2 separate regions of the Homo sapiens genome follow, and region 2 is linked to region 1. Evidence: promoter capture Hi-C in human tissues and cell types (Jung and others, 2019). All regions are on one chromosome and are shown on one strand. The core of a region is centred on a gene start or on the middle of the fragment in contact, and the rest is flanking DNA. Distances in the headings are between cores, read along the strand shown.

The links. The method cuts DNA at HindIII sites, captures the fragments that hold promoters and counts their contacts. A contact is called where the count stands out against the background at its distance.
Region 2: a fragment that was not itself captured here is called in contact with the fragment with the promoter of RPL35A in region 1 in 1 of the 25 tissues and cell types used here (hippocampus).

Annotation. Positions count from the first base shown.
Region 1 is chr3:197,946,692-197,953,687 of GRCh38, forward strand. It overlaps RPL35A (ribosomal protein L35a), which reads left to right and starts at 3,499. Exons shown (of 5, transcript NM_000996.4): 1 at 3,499-3,530; 2 at 4,245-4,287; 3 at 4,468-4,620. The coding sequence starts at 4,277. The region is part of intron 2 of DRC9 (dynein regulatory complex subunit 9); the gene reads right to left. RefSeq lists enhancers at 2,902-3,121, 3,201-3,983, 4,767-5,548. The HindIII fragment of the contact is 11,846 bases long and covers 1-6,996 here.
Region 2 is chr3:197,290,387-197,297,796 of GRCh38, forward strand. It overlaps DLG1 (discs large MAGUK scaffold protein 1), which reads right to left. Exons shown (of 25, transcript NM_001366207.1): 2 at 6,800-6,849; 3 at 5,960-6,091. The coding sequence starts at 6,818. It overlaps MIR4797 (microRNA 4797), which reads right to left and starts at 3,562; the gene lies at 3,492-3,562. RefSeq lists a silencer at 7,153-7,410. The HindIII fragment of the contact is 6,857 bases long and covers 1,054-7,410 here.

The DNA of each region.
Region 1 (6,996 bases), core at 2,249-4,748:
CAAAAATTCAAACACACAAAACAGAATCTTCACATAAATTTGAAAAAGTACTTCAGACTAGCCAAATGTCCTGATGCAGGGGCAGTTTTAGGAGGAAGTAGCATGGTATTAAGCAGAATACCTTTCTTTTTTTCTTTTCTTTTTTTTTGAGATGGAGTTTTTCTCTTCTTGCCTAGGCTGCAGTACGATGGCGCGATCTTGGCTCACTGCAACCTCTGCCTCCCAGGTTCAAGTGATTTCCCTGCCTCAGCCTCCCGAGTAACTGGGATTACAGGCTCACACCACCATTTTGTATTTTTAGTAGAGACGGGGTTTCACCATGTTGGCCAGGCTGGTCTCGAACTCTTGACCTCAGGTGATCCACCTGCCTCAGTCTCCCAAAGTGTTGAGATTACAGGCGTGAGCCAAGGCGCCCAGGCGGATTTTACTTTCTATTTCCATATCTCCTAAGCTGGACCTAGTTGTTGCTGTGTTTGTTTGTTTCCTTGTTTTCTTTTTTGCTTGAACTACTCCAACAACCTCTAAATTGGAAGTGATCTTTTAATTTTTAAATTTTTTTTTTCTGATATCCTGACAGAAGGTTCAGGAAGTGAGCTTTTTAAAATGAAAGGGTGATCTTTTAAAATGGAAAATCTCATCATGTCCTTCCCTAGAACCCTTCAATGGTTTCCCGTTGCCTTAGGACAAAGAAGAAAATTCTTGACTTGGTCCACAAGGTCTGTATGATCTGGGCCCCTCTGTTCCTCTCTAGACCCAACTACAACTGCACTTTCCTTGCTCTCTGGGCTCCAGCCACAGTGGGCTTCTTTCAGTTCTTCTCTGGACTCATGCTCCCTTGCAACTCAGGGTCTTTGCACCTGCTATTCCTTCCAGTGGAGCCACTCTTCCCTCACCTTTTCACCGTGTAAAGTCCCACTGACCCATCACCAGCTTAAGACAGTGTCATTTTTCTAGGTGAAATCTCTAACATTTTCTGTGCTCTGAGAGATGGACCCGTATGGAGTATATCCAGGGGAGATTCCAGAAAGAGATTCAGTGTAGAGAAGTGAGATCAGACATTTATTCTCCCTGCTCCTTCTCTGCCAGAATATAATTGGTTGGTTATGTTCCTCTATCAAAGGTCATGGCTCCTGTCAGGCAATTCTCTCCAAACGTCTCTCTCTGGGCTTAGGTAACTATTTCTTTCCTAGGTCCCGGGAGACTCCATCATCCCTTGTAGTTTCACTCCTGCTTTACCTTTTTTTTTTTTTTTTTTTTTTTTGAGACGGTCTCACTCTGTCACCAAGGCTGGAGTGCAGTGGCAGGATCTCAGCTCACTGAAACCTCCCCCTACCAGGTTGAAGCGATTCTTGTACCTCAGCCTCCCAAGTAGCTGGGATGACAGGCACACACCAACACCCCTGGCTGATTTTTGTATTTTTAGTAGAGACAGGGTTTCACTATGTTGGCCAGGCTGGTCTCAAACTCCTGACCTCAAGTGATCCACCCACCTCAGCCTCCCAAAGTGCTGGGATGACAGGCGTGAGCCACTGCGCCCGGCCCATACTTTGTTTTAAAAAGTATTCTTATCATGCTCTACTAATGGTCATCACCTGCAGTTTGAAAAATGCCTTAACTGACACTTGTCCAAGTGATCCTTTCGCTGACTCGTCAGGCCAGATCAGGCTTCTGGGCACTCATGCCACTACTTTCCCGCAGAGCTGTGTTCACAATTTGTTACGTTAGTGTCAGTTTCCCCCCACTAGACAACTGTTCCATGAAAGCAGCAACATGACAACGATGCTCACAGTTGTATCAGGTGCTAAGTCTCAGTGCTCAATAAGTATTTGTGGAACGAATAATACACGAGCAAACGAATGAAACTCACACTTAATGTGTTATTCCTCCCAGGAGGACTTCCATATAGAACTTTGACAAATCAATATCTAATAGTGAAATTTCTAGCACATTTCTTTCTGGGACAGGGAACACTGGGTGGGGTAGTAGGCTACAAGGTACAAGTTCTATCCTGTTGTATTTAAGAGAGGATCTGATTTTAAAAGTGACTTATATACATCTATTTCATACAACTTCGGAGTCATACTTTACTCTCTCTCATTCCTCATCCACCAGCAAATCTTGCCAGAATTTAAATATATTCAGAATTCCAGTACTCAATATCCTCTGTTTACACACCATCACCTCTCATCATAGTCACTACAGGAACCTATAATTATCTTCCTGCTGATACCCTTGCCTCCCTTCACTTTCAACACAGTGACTTTGTCAATATAGAAGTCAGATAGAGTCACCCTTCTGTTCAGGACCCTTAAATAGTTCCCATCTCAAAGCAGGGGAAGCCTCTTTTACATACTTCCCATCTCAAAGTGGGGAAAGCCTCTTTTACAGTGGCCTCTCTGCTTAATTTTCTTCACAGAAATTATCATCTTCTAACGTGTCATCTATTTTTACTTGCTCATTGTGTTGCTCCGCCTCGTAGGATATAAGCTCCACGAGGGCATAGATTTGTTTACTGCCGTGTCATCTTACACAAACCTTGGTACAGGGTAGTCATTCATTAAACTATGTGTTAAATAAATGAATGAATCCATAGGATAACCCAAATAAATATGCAATAATTCGGAAATGTGAATCTCTGGCGTCCACTAATCCACCTCTACAAGTATCTACGGAGGACCTACTAGGTGCGGACACGAGGCAGCTAAACGAGTTCTCCTAAAAGGGCGATAAAGCCTCCTGCAGGCAGTCCTCCTCATACCTCGGATCCAAAAAGAAGAATGGAGGTAAGAACTTAAGTCATTTCATTCATTTTTTTTTTCTTTTGTAGAGGTTGGGGGAGGTGGTCTCACTATGTTGCCCAGGCTGGTCTCGAACTCCTGGCCTCAAGCGATCCTCCCGCCTCGGCTTCCCAAAGAGCTGGGTTTACAGGCGTGAGCCACTGTGCCCAGTCTCATTTCTTGAAAGAGATAAATAAGTAGAGGGGAGAAAAGAAGTATAGAAAAAGAAAAAAGAGAAGGAAGAGGTCCTGCTGCCTTCGTGCTCCCGGCCTTTCTCTTCCATGCTAGATTAGGATCCCAGAATTTCCGTTCTGTCTATTGCTGTGTGTATCGAGAGAAAAGCACCCCACTGTTGGCAAATCAATCTTACAGTCAATCATTCTTTAGGCAGCGGGAACATCCTCCACTCAGGGTTCGCCTTTCCACCTACGGCGTCCGGGGACGCAGGAAGTAAACTAAGTTGTTTCTATGGCAACGCACAGCTTTGGCGGATTTAGCTGGCTACCATTTTGCCTTCCCTTGTTCCCAAGTAGTACATTTTGCAGCCTACCAAGATGAAAGGACTTAGGAAAATAATTGTAAGAGTGCTATTGAATGTGGCTTATTTCAGTGCGAAGCCGATTTCCGAGGATTGTTTTTCTGGCGTTTGGAGAAGATGCCTAAATTGAGGGCGGAGTCGAAAGATGTTTAATCCCACAAGGCCACGCGGCGGGGCCTCGTCCTTCTCTTACCGCCATCTTGGCTCCTGTGGAGGTGAGTGAAGGGTCTGCTGCTGAAATTTGGGGGCAAATAACCGGAGTAGGTTTGTTCCTGTGCCTTGGCGAGTCGCCGGTGCGTATCGGAGTCTCTGCCAGCCATTGATTTCTACGGGTTTCAAGAAGAGGGAGAACAGGATGGAGGAGATGTTGGGCTGATGGTGTTTGGTCCCCTGACACCCGGAGAACGGCTGCCCGGGTTATCCCAGTTAAATTCCTGGGCCTGAACGGAGTGAAACGATGTTTTTGTTCGTGTGCAGTTGTCCATGAGGCAGTGCTTCCTTCATCCGTTTCCTCCCAGTCCATACCTTCCTTGGCTTGTCTGACCAGTCTCTTTCCTCAGCTTTTCTCCCCCAGCCATTGCATAAAAGTCTTACGTGTGTGTTTCTCTTTAAGGCTTCATTTCTTTTCCTGAGTGTTGCCTACTGATAACGGCATGCATTTTCTCAGGCTTTTCTGAGAGTCATTTTTGTGACTCCTGTCCCTTAGTTTTGTCTTCATTCTGAAGTTTGCTTAGATACCAGCTGTTCTCTGAGGTTTGAATGTCTTGCCGGACCCTGCGTTTCATATGGATGTTCTGGCATTGTTGTCCCCGAACTCCTACATGAAACTCCCATCCAAAAGGAATTTGCTTTAGGGGCTTAAACGAGAGGGGACGAGGTGGGAAACTTGTGTGGCTTGGTTTTAAACTAATCTTTTTGTTTGTTTTAAGGCCTGCTGGGAACGGGACTTCTAAAAGGAACTATGTCTGGAAGGTACGCGTTTTAAATATAGTTCTTTATTTTTGTGTGTTAGACGTGAACGTAAATGCGAGCTTAAAATTGGCAAGAAAAAACTTAGATGTTTGCTCTGAGTAACTTTTGGGTGGGGGTGATTACAAGTCAGATTGGTTTTTTGAAGCTTATGTTTCATGTTGTGTATCTTTTGTGTCTTAGGCTGTGGTCCAAGGCCATTTTTGCTGGCTATAAGCGGGGTCTCCGGAACCAAAGGGAGCACACAGCTCTTCTTAAAATTGAAGGTGTTTACGCCCGAGATGAAACAGAATTCTATTTGGGCAAGAGATGCGCTTATGTATATAAAGCAAAGAAGTAAGTTTATGACACTGGTAGGTTTTGGGTTTTTGAGATCTGCCTCATTTTCTTTTTTATATAACGGAGTCTTGCTCTGTTGCCGAGGCTGGAATGCAGTGACTTGGTCTCCCTCACCGAAACCTCCGCCTCCCGGGTTCAAGCAAGTGTCCTGTCTCAGCCTCCCGAGTAGCTGGGATTACAGGCGCCGGCCACCACGCCCGGCTAGTTTTTGTATTATTAGTAGAGACAGGGTATTGCCATGTTGGCCAGGCTGGTCCCAAACTCCTGACCTTAGGTGATCCGCCCACCTCGGCCTCCCAAAGTGCTGAGATTACAGGCTTGAGCCACCGCGCCTGGCCTCATTATCCTATTGAAATAATAAACAAAAGATTTAGCTGAAGTACTTGGTATTGTTTTTTTGTTTTTGTGACAAGAGTCTCTGTTGCCCAGGTTGGAGGGCAGTAGCGCGATCTTGGCTCGCTGCAGCCTCTGCCTCCTGGCTCAAGCGATTCTCCTGCCTCAGCCTCCTGAGTAGCTGGGCTTACAGGGGTGTGCCACCACGCCCGGCTAATTTTTGTATTTTTACTAGAGAATGGGTTTCCCCATGTTGGCCAGGCTGGATTGGTATTGCTGTGGCTTCTATTTTGCGTCATTAAGGAACTTAATGGGGAGTTTTAGAAGGACGTTACTTCTGAGGGTGGTGTTGGATTTAGGTACCTTTTGCACTTGTAAGCAATAAAGGAGGTAATTCCTTATATTGTGATCCTTTTAAGGTTTCTAATTTTTTTTCTCGGCTCCTTTTGCCAGAATTTAAGGATTTTTAGAACACTTGTGCTTAATGCATTTTGTTAATGCCTTAAAATTATGGGTTTTTTTTTTTTTTTTTTTTTTTTTTGGAGACGGAGTCTCACTGTCACCTAGGCTGGAGTGCAGTAGCACAATATCGGCTCACCGCAACCTCCGCCTCCCGGGTTCAAGGGATTCTCCTGCCTTAGCCTCCTGAGTAGCTGGGATTACAGGCGGCCGCCACCATGCCTGTCTAATTTTTGTATATTTAGTAGAGATGGGGTTTCACCATTTTGGCCAGGCTGGTCTTAAACTCCTGAACTTGTGATCCACCCACCTCAGCCTCCCAAAGTGCTGGGATTACAGGCAGGAGCCACGGTGCCCCGCCCCTTGTTTTTTCTTTTCTTTCTTTTCTTTTTTTCTTTCTTTTTTGAGACAGAGTTTTGCTCTTGTTATCCAGGCTAAAGTGCAATGGCACAATCTCAGCTCACTGTAATCTCTGCTTCCCGGGTTCAAGCGATTATCCTGCCTCAGCCTCCGAGTGAGGTGGGATTACAGGCGTGTGCCACCACACCCAGCTAATTTTATGTTTTTAGTAGAAACGGGGTTTCACAGTGTTGGTCACTCTGGTCTTGAACTCCTGACCTCAAGTAATCCACCTGCCTCGGCCTCCCAGAGTGCTGGGATTATAGCGCAAGTCACTGCACCAGGCCAAAATTAGTTTTTATGCATGCCTAAAGATGTTTATGCTGTAGACTTTTTTTTTTTTTTGAGACAAAGTGTTGCTCTGTTGCCCAGGCTGGAGTGCAGTGGTGTGATCTCAGCTCACTGCAACCTCAGCTTCCCCAGTAGCTGGGATTACAGGCGCGCACCACCACACCCGGCTAACTTTTGTATTTTTAGTAGAGACAGGGTTTCACCATGTTGGCCAGGCTGGTCTCGAACTCCTGACCTCGTGATCCACCCGCCCCAGCCTCCCAAAGTGCTGGGATTACAGGCGTGAGCCATCGTGCCATTGCACCTTAGCCTGGACAACAAGAGCAAATCCTATTGTCTTCACCCACTCCAAGCCAATTAAAATCTCTGGGAAAGTGTTTTAATCATTGCCCCACCTTTTCTTCTACAGCCAATGTGTTCCTTTAAAATTTTAAGTCAGGTGCAGTGGCTCACACTTGTAGCCCCAGCATTTGAGAGCCCTAGGTGGGAGGATTGCTTGATGCCAGGAGATAGAGGCTGCAGTGAGCTATGATTGGGCCACTGTACTGCAGCCTGGGTGACAAGACAACCCCGTGGTCTTTAAAGGAAATATATATAAAGTCATATCCTTTGTACATTGCTCGAACCACAGTAGTTTCTCTCATTCAGTAAAAGCCCGTCATTAAGAGCTCCATAATTCTCTTTATCTCAGCTGGGATTAACCCCTTGGTGTCTTCAGTCTTTCTTCCGGCCAGGACACACACTCCTTGGCCCCAGTGCCTGCGCTAGTCATCCCGTGATCACTTCATGGCATTTCCCCTCCCTTTCCAGTCTTTGTTCCATGGTCACCTCAGTGAGACCTTCCTTGGCTATTTAAAATGGCAGGTAATTCCTCCTTTCTGTACACACAAA
Region 2 (7,410 bases), core at 3,232-5,731, 660 kb before region 1:
GTGTCTCCCCCACATATTGCCTATAAGCCACAAGGGGTAAAAAACAATGACTATAGGATACAGAATTCAGACAACACCCAACTAGGTAATCAAAATCAGTATCATCAACAAAGAGCAGATGACTCTGTGTACCTCTGGATGTACAGAATCCTAAGCCAGGAATACAAAACCTGAATCTAATCACAAGGAAACATCAGACAAACCCAAAATGAGAAAATTATATTAAAAAAAAGTAAGAGTGGAAGGAACTGCGTTTTTCAAAATCATCAATCTCAGCTGGGCGCAGTGGCTCACACCTGTAATCCCAGAACTTTGCTCAGGAGTTCGAGACCAGCCTGGGCAACACCTGTCTCTAGAAAAAGTTAGCCAGGCGTGGGGGCTCACACCTGTAGTCCCAGCTACTCAGGAGCCTGAGGCAGGAGGATTGCTTGAGCCTGGGAAGCAGAGGTTGCAGTAAGCCACCACTGCACTCCAGCCTGGGTGGCAGAGCAAGACCCTGTCTCCAAATAGTAAAAAAAAAAAAAAAAAAAAAAAAGTCAGTCTCACACAAGACAAAGAAAAGCTGTGGAAATGTGCCCTAAGTAAAGAGACGTGACAACTAACGGTAATATCTGGTCCAAGTCTGGATTCTGCACTGAGGAAAAATATGACCCTGCAGAGAGGAAATGGCTTAGAAGAAATATTTAGATGCCTTTACAACTCTGATTCCAAGGTTCTAAAGAGAATTCAGCCAGATTCAACATAATCAAAACACTGCTTCAGAGCAGTAGTAAGCAAACTATGAGCAAAGAACTCAATCTAATTGAATCAAAACCATCAAGTGAGAAGTTACTAAAATTCTCCATTTCAGGAAGTTTCAGCCAACGATGTGATCCATATCCTGTTTTCCTTACTCAAATCTAGCCTACAAAGTTACACACACACACACACACACACACACACACACACACACACAGTTAGCAAGAGACTAAAATGTAACATCAGTGGGACTAATATAATGCAAAAGAAATTTAAGAAATTTTGACATTTTACCACTATAGCTGGAAGATCTCAAACCCTGATTACTAAACACTGTTTTCAAAATGTGTGATTTCCATCATCATAAACATAATGCACCATTATAAATATTTTCCTTCAAAGTGACAATCATTTAAAGATTACTAACCCTAAAGATTGCTATCTGTCTTAAGCATGCTTGTCATTTAGTATTCTTTATCAGATTAAAATACTCAGTTCTGAAAAACAACGATAAAGAATATCCCAATGGTTGACGGTGAGAAGTATCTATGGATTCAGATTAGTTGAGTTCAATTTCTGGCTCCGCAATTTAGCATCTGAGGGTCCAAGGGCAAGATTGGTCATTTCTCAGTGCTTCAGTTTTCCAGTCTATAAAACAGTACAAACACCTCATACAGGTGAATGTACACCTCACAGGATTACAATGACTAAATGATATATTTGTATTAGCACATAGAAAGTGCTCAATAAATGTTGGTTATTATGTTTTACATACACTTGAAGAGGAGTCATATACTCACACTTATTAGGATGGCTATTATCAAAAAAAGAAAGGAAAAAAATTAAGTATCGGCAAGGATGTGGAGAAACTGGAAATCCTGTGTGCTGCTGGTGAGACTGTAAAATGCTGCAATCACTATGGAAAACATTATGGTGGGCCCTCAAAAAATTAAAAATGTAACTGCCGTATGATCCCACAATCCTATTTCTGGGTAAATATCCAAAAGAACTGAAAGCAGGGTCTTGAAGAAATATTTGCACACTCACATTCCTAACAGCATTATTCACAACAGCCAGGAGGAGGAAGCAACCCAACTGTCCATCAATGGATGGCTAGATAAAATGCGGTATATACATACAACGGAATATTATTCAGCCTGAAAAAGGAAGAAAATCCTGTCAACAACTACAACATGAATGAACCTTGCGGACTCTACACTGAGTGAAATAAGCCAGTCGCAAAAAGACAAATACTTCTATGAGGTTTCTAACATGATCAAATTCACTGAAACAGAAAGCAGCACGTTGGTCACAAGGGGCTGGGAAGTGAGAGGAAAGGGGAGCAGTTGTTTATTCGGTATAGGATTTCAGTTTTGCAAGACGAAAGTGTTCTGAAGATTTGTTTCACAACAATATGAATACATTTCACACTCCTGAACTGTACATTTAAAGATGGTGAAGATGGCAAAGGGGTCATACTTTTGAAACTAGTATCTACAAATAAAGATAGGGTAATGTCCTTTTATAAGGGCTAGTGAAACTATTAGATTTTAATAGAGTGGCAACAAATGAACTGGTAACTAAACTCATAAATGGACAGTATTATTACATAATCCACTTTCATTCTGAAATCTCTGCAGAAATAAAACACTGCATTAGAATAAGCTTATTTATTGCAGACAAAATATACAAATCACATGACTCAACTTACTCAAGTCTCTAAAGCCAGCCTAATCTTGGGCCCCAGTTTTTCTCATGCACAAGGAAAGCAGATGAGTTCTCTGATCCCGTAAGAAATAACTGCAGGGGTTTAGACTGGTATGAAGTCTCTATGGACTAGCAGTGTCATCTCAGATCCCACACACCTTAGAATCATGAATGAACTGAAACCACTATGGACCTGAATACCTGGGCTCTGATTATAATCAAACCATATCCCGTCTACTCAAAAAATTTTCAAACTTAAGCACAAAAAACTGGAATACAAAAGCAAGTTTTCAAATTGCTCTCACCTAAATCACAGAGTGAAATTAAGCAGACTTTATCTTCCTTTATACAAAAATAATCACCAGGTATGTTTTGGGAGTAAATTTTAAACAAATGTGCAGTTCATGGACTTTTGTTAAGATACAACTTTAAATATTTAGCTCTAAAGAAACAATACATCAGCTGAAATTCAAAATTAGTAAAAACTTTTCTGCTTTCAATAATTTTTAAATCTTTAAGCCATCCTTCAAAGATACTACCAAGTATCTATCAGCACTAGACCAATGATTTCTATATTACATTGCGAGTATCAATTATAAAATGCACTATTTCATGTGTCAGAACACAGAAACACTGTCAATTAAAAATGACATATACCAGATATTGAAATATTTAACAGTTGGTATTTTAGAACAAATATAATACAGTACGTACATGCTTGTCCCTCTGAATAATCCAAAAGTACAGGAACCTAATCTATGTATCAACTACAGGGGGGGACACCAAACCCCTAGAGACTCAAACTTTTTTAAATGCATGAAAAGTCAATATAAACTACCAGTTCAAAGAATCAATCAATAAATGATCAATGCAGACTGAAAATCCAAAGACACTTGGCACCCCAAACAGATAACTAGATAACTCACTGCGGCCTAAACAAGTGATTTCCAAATTAAGGAAGTGAAAAATCTAAGCACTCAATGACTCCAAACAGCTCAGGTGGCCAAGACCCCTGTTCTCCTTTAATCCAGTGGTCCACAGGTACCAACTCAGAAGACAGAGTGCCACTTACTGAGAGAAAAAACCTTTCAGTAAGTGGCACTCTGTCTTCTGAGTCGGATTTTTCTGCAAACACTATGGACACAATGAACTGGTTTAGCTTAGGGCAGTTTACAAGCTTAAAGTACATTTATGACACTGTTTCAAAACAATGGTAGAGTTGCAAAATACAAAGAAAATCTTATCAGACTAAACATTTTCAGACTAAGTATTAAAAGTTATTCAGGAAACACAAGAGAATGTATTTATTCCGTAGTATCAACAATTATAGCATGGAAACACACAGAACCTCTATTAAACGTTATCTATTTCAAAACTCCTAAAATCTATTACTTGTCTTACACCAAAATGTGATATAGTACCACATCCTATAGAACATTAAATATAAGTAAATTTAAATGTCAAAGTAAATTCACAACCAATGAAATTAGAAGATTCACAAATATAAACTTAGTAATTAGGAAGCTAACTCTAGGCCAGACGCGGTGGCTCACGCCTGTAATCCCAACATTTTGGGAGGCCGAGGTGGGTGGATCACGAGGTCAGGAGATCGAGACCATCCTGGCTTACACAGTGAAACCCCGTCTTTACTAAAAATACAATACAAAAAATAAAAAATTAGCCGGACGTGGTGGTGGGCACCTTTGGTCCCAGCTACTCAGGAGGCTGAGGCAGGAGAATGGCGTGAACCTGGCAGGCGGAGCTTGCAGTGAGCGGAGATCTCGCCACTGCACTCCAGCCTGGGTGACAGAGTGAGACTCTGCCTCAAAAAAAAAAAAAAAAAAAAAGAGAAGAAAGCTAACTCTATCAAAGTTCAATTGTACGTAAGAATAGACACATTCAAAACAGGCAAGGCAGAATAGGTCAAAAATGTCTCTGAACACAGCAAACCCATCCCCAATCTAGACAGAAATATAAATGTAGATTCTGTTATTTCACTAACGATTTAATTTTCTTAAGTTACAGCCATCACACAAAGAAAAGTCTGCAGTCTATCTATCTGCCTATCTATACATATATGTATATATATATCTCTATACTGTTGCGAAAAAACATACTTTTTTTGCAACAGTAACTGCACCAAATTACTAGGCTCAATGTTGATTTAGAAAACAAATAACTAAAAAATGCTTTTTGCTGTTTTTCCAGAGGAATCCAATTTGATCATCCATTCGGACCTTAAACCTCAGAAATTCAAATGTGTAAAAAATGTCCATCAATGTAAACAAAAATGGCAAAATGTGAATTTCTGGAGCTGGGTAACAGTTAAAAGGCAGTTCATTACACTGTGCTATGTATCCTTATGTTTTTAAAAGTCTATTAAAATGTTACATTTTTCAAAATTGTTCAGGTGCATCAAGTGGTCTTTACAAAAATCTTTCATTCTAAAACCGTAGAGAGCATCCATTTATCAATAATGTACCTGACAGGACACACTGACTTGAAAGTAGTCTTCAAATCACACCAACAATTATTCTATCAACAGATAGATGTAAGGCCATATCTGACTGGAAGTTACTGAAGAAATAAATGTAATATAATTAAGTATATGTCTTCTTATGTTAAAATGTTATATAGTTGATAACTAAAACAAAAAAAAAAAACTTCATTCTTAGAATTGGAAGAGACAAACTTTCTAGTTCGGTGGTTTGCAAACTTTTTGAGGTACCTGGACAAAAGAGCCAGACAAGTCACCTTGTTTTATACATAGGAGATTATACACAAAATATGAGATGATGCTTTTAAAAATGATTTATCTACTTAAAAAAGGCTTTAAACCCATTCTGTCATTTCAACAGCTACATTCTACAGCTAATATGGTGGCATAGAAAAGATTAAATGACTTGGGATATATCATTCAATTAGTGGCAAAAGAACTCAGGACTCTTATTTTTCCAGTTCTTTCAAACAATGCACCACTTCAAATTAAGTTACAATTAAGAATAAAACTTTCCATTTTCTTGCCTGTAAAATACGGTTACTAGACAAGATCATCTCTAAGATTATTTTCCAGGTCTAAAATTCTGACTCCATGAATGCCAAGCTCAAACAGAAATCTACATTAAGGGAATGAATGTTCTTCAACACAGCAGAACCCTTCACACGCTTTCAATGACTTCAGAGACATGCCAGTCAAATACAGAAACAAGCTCACAGTAACTCAGTCATACCTTTTAGGTCCTTAAACATCTGTGCAACATCTTTTAATAGTTAATGCTATTAAGATGTGAAACAATGTTCTCAAAAGCCACTGAAATAATCCTGAAAGTTTTTTGGTTACTAGTTATTTTAAGAAAGGACACTGGCCTATGAAAAACACACAACTCACTGAAGATGTTCAAGTTACCGAATGCCTCAGAGAATTAAGTACATCATTTTCTTAAGTTTAAAATAAATGAATTGAGAGGAGCATAAAGCCTAGCTGGCATAATAGTTACGAAGTTTTAATTCCCACCTATTAAAGCCTGAAAGAGGTTGCTCTGAAATATGTTAATAACCCGTTCTATGGAACTTCTGAGCTGTCTGTCTTCAGTTTGGCTTAGTTTTGAACGATATTCCTCCAAAAGGTGCAATGCTCTCTGGGTATCTGAGAAGAAAAAGCAGAGCCTGATTAAAACTCTCTATTTACAAAAAAAGTATCACATACTAGTGCAAATAATTCTGCATGACATCTAAATAGTTCCGCAAATCCTTCAGGTCAATTGATGTCACTATGTTCATGTACACATATTCCTTAGAATGACCAAAAAATAAAAAAAAAAATTAAAGAAATACAAGAAAAATTTAAACATATATCACATTAGAAAACGGAGGAGAGTGAGCAGTTTGGAATAAATGTGTACTGGTAGTTTGCCAAAGTAAAAGATCAAAGTATTAGCAACAGTTTCAGATTACCTGATAATGCAAAAGCAGATTATCTACAATTTGTCATCATAATCCAAATTTTTAACATTTCAAAATACAAATTCTTAGTATCCCACAGTTGCTTACAGAATAGTGCTTAGTAAGAATGATAGAGTGAAATACTAAAACACCAATTCAGGGTTATTAAGGACATCTGTTGGGGGGGGGCTAACTGCCTCTCTTAATCACTAGAGAAATGTTAAGAAAGTTTAACAAACATTTTCGTGTTTCCATCTTCTGAAATGATATGAGGCTTAGATTCCCTAAGCAATAAAGCTAGGACCGTGCTGTCTCATCAAAGTTACACAAACGATTCTAAAACGGCAATCAAAAAACTGACACACGGAAAAGCAAGTGACATCGACAACAGAGTTACGGAATAAACTCTCACCTTGCTTCCGGACCGGCATTTTTCTCCAGAATCAGGAAGAGGGCACACACCTTTAAAACACACAACGGAAAGGAAAAAGGATAGAATCATGTTAAACTAGCATTTTCCCCTATCGAAATAGAAAACCCTCGCAGCCTATTTGAAAACCCCACGTTCCAAAGTTTTACCAAGTCAAAGAAAGAGTCTCAAAACGCAGCAGTTGTCTGTCAACGTGGAAAGCTTTTCCTTGGAGTGGGTACCCCTCCAAATTAAGAACAGACAGAAGTCGGCTTCCAAACTCTCCTCGAAAGCGTCCCCTCCCCAAAGAGCCTAGACCTGAGGCCGCCTCTTCCCCCGCACAAGTATCCACACTCCCCACCTGCTACTGGGTACGGGCGGGTGAAGCGCTCCGACCCTTGGCCCCTGAGCCAGCAGCGGCCGCAGAGCGCTGAGAGGGGACCAGCGGGACTGGCCGCCCGCCCTGCTCGGGCCCCCTCCTCTCGCTTGCCTTTCTCCTTGCTCGCTGCCTCCGGGCTGCTCCAGCGGGGGCCGGACAGGGCAGCGGCCGCTCTCCGCGACGCCCTCGCGCCCCGCATGCACACCTCCGCGGGCCCCCACACCTGCGGCGCCGC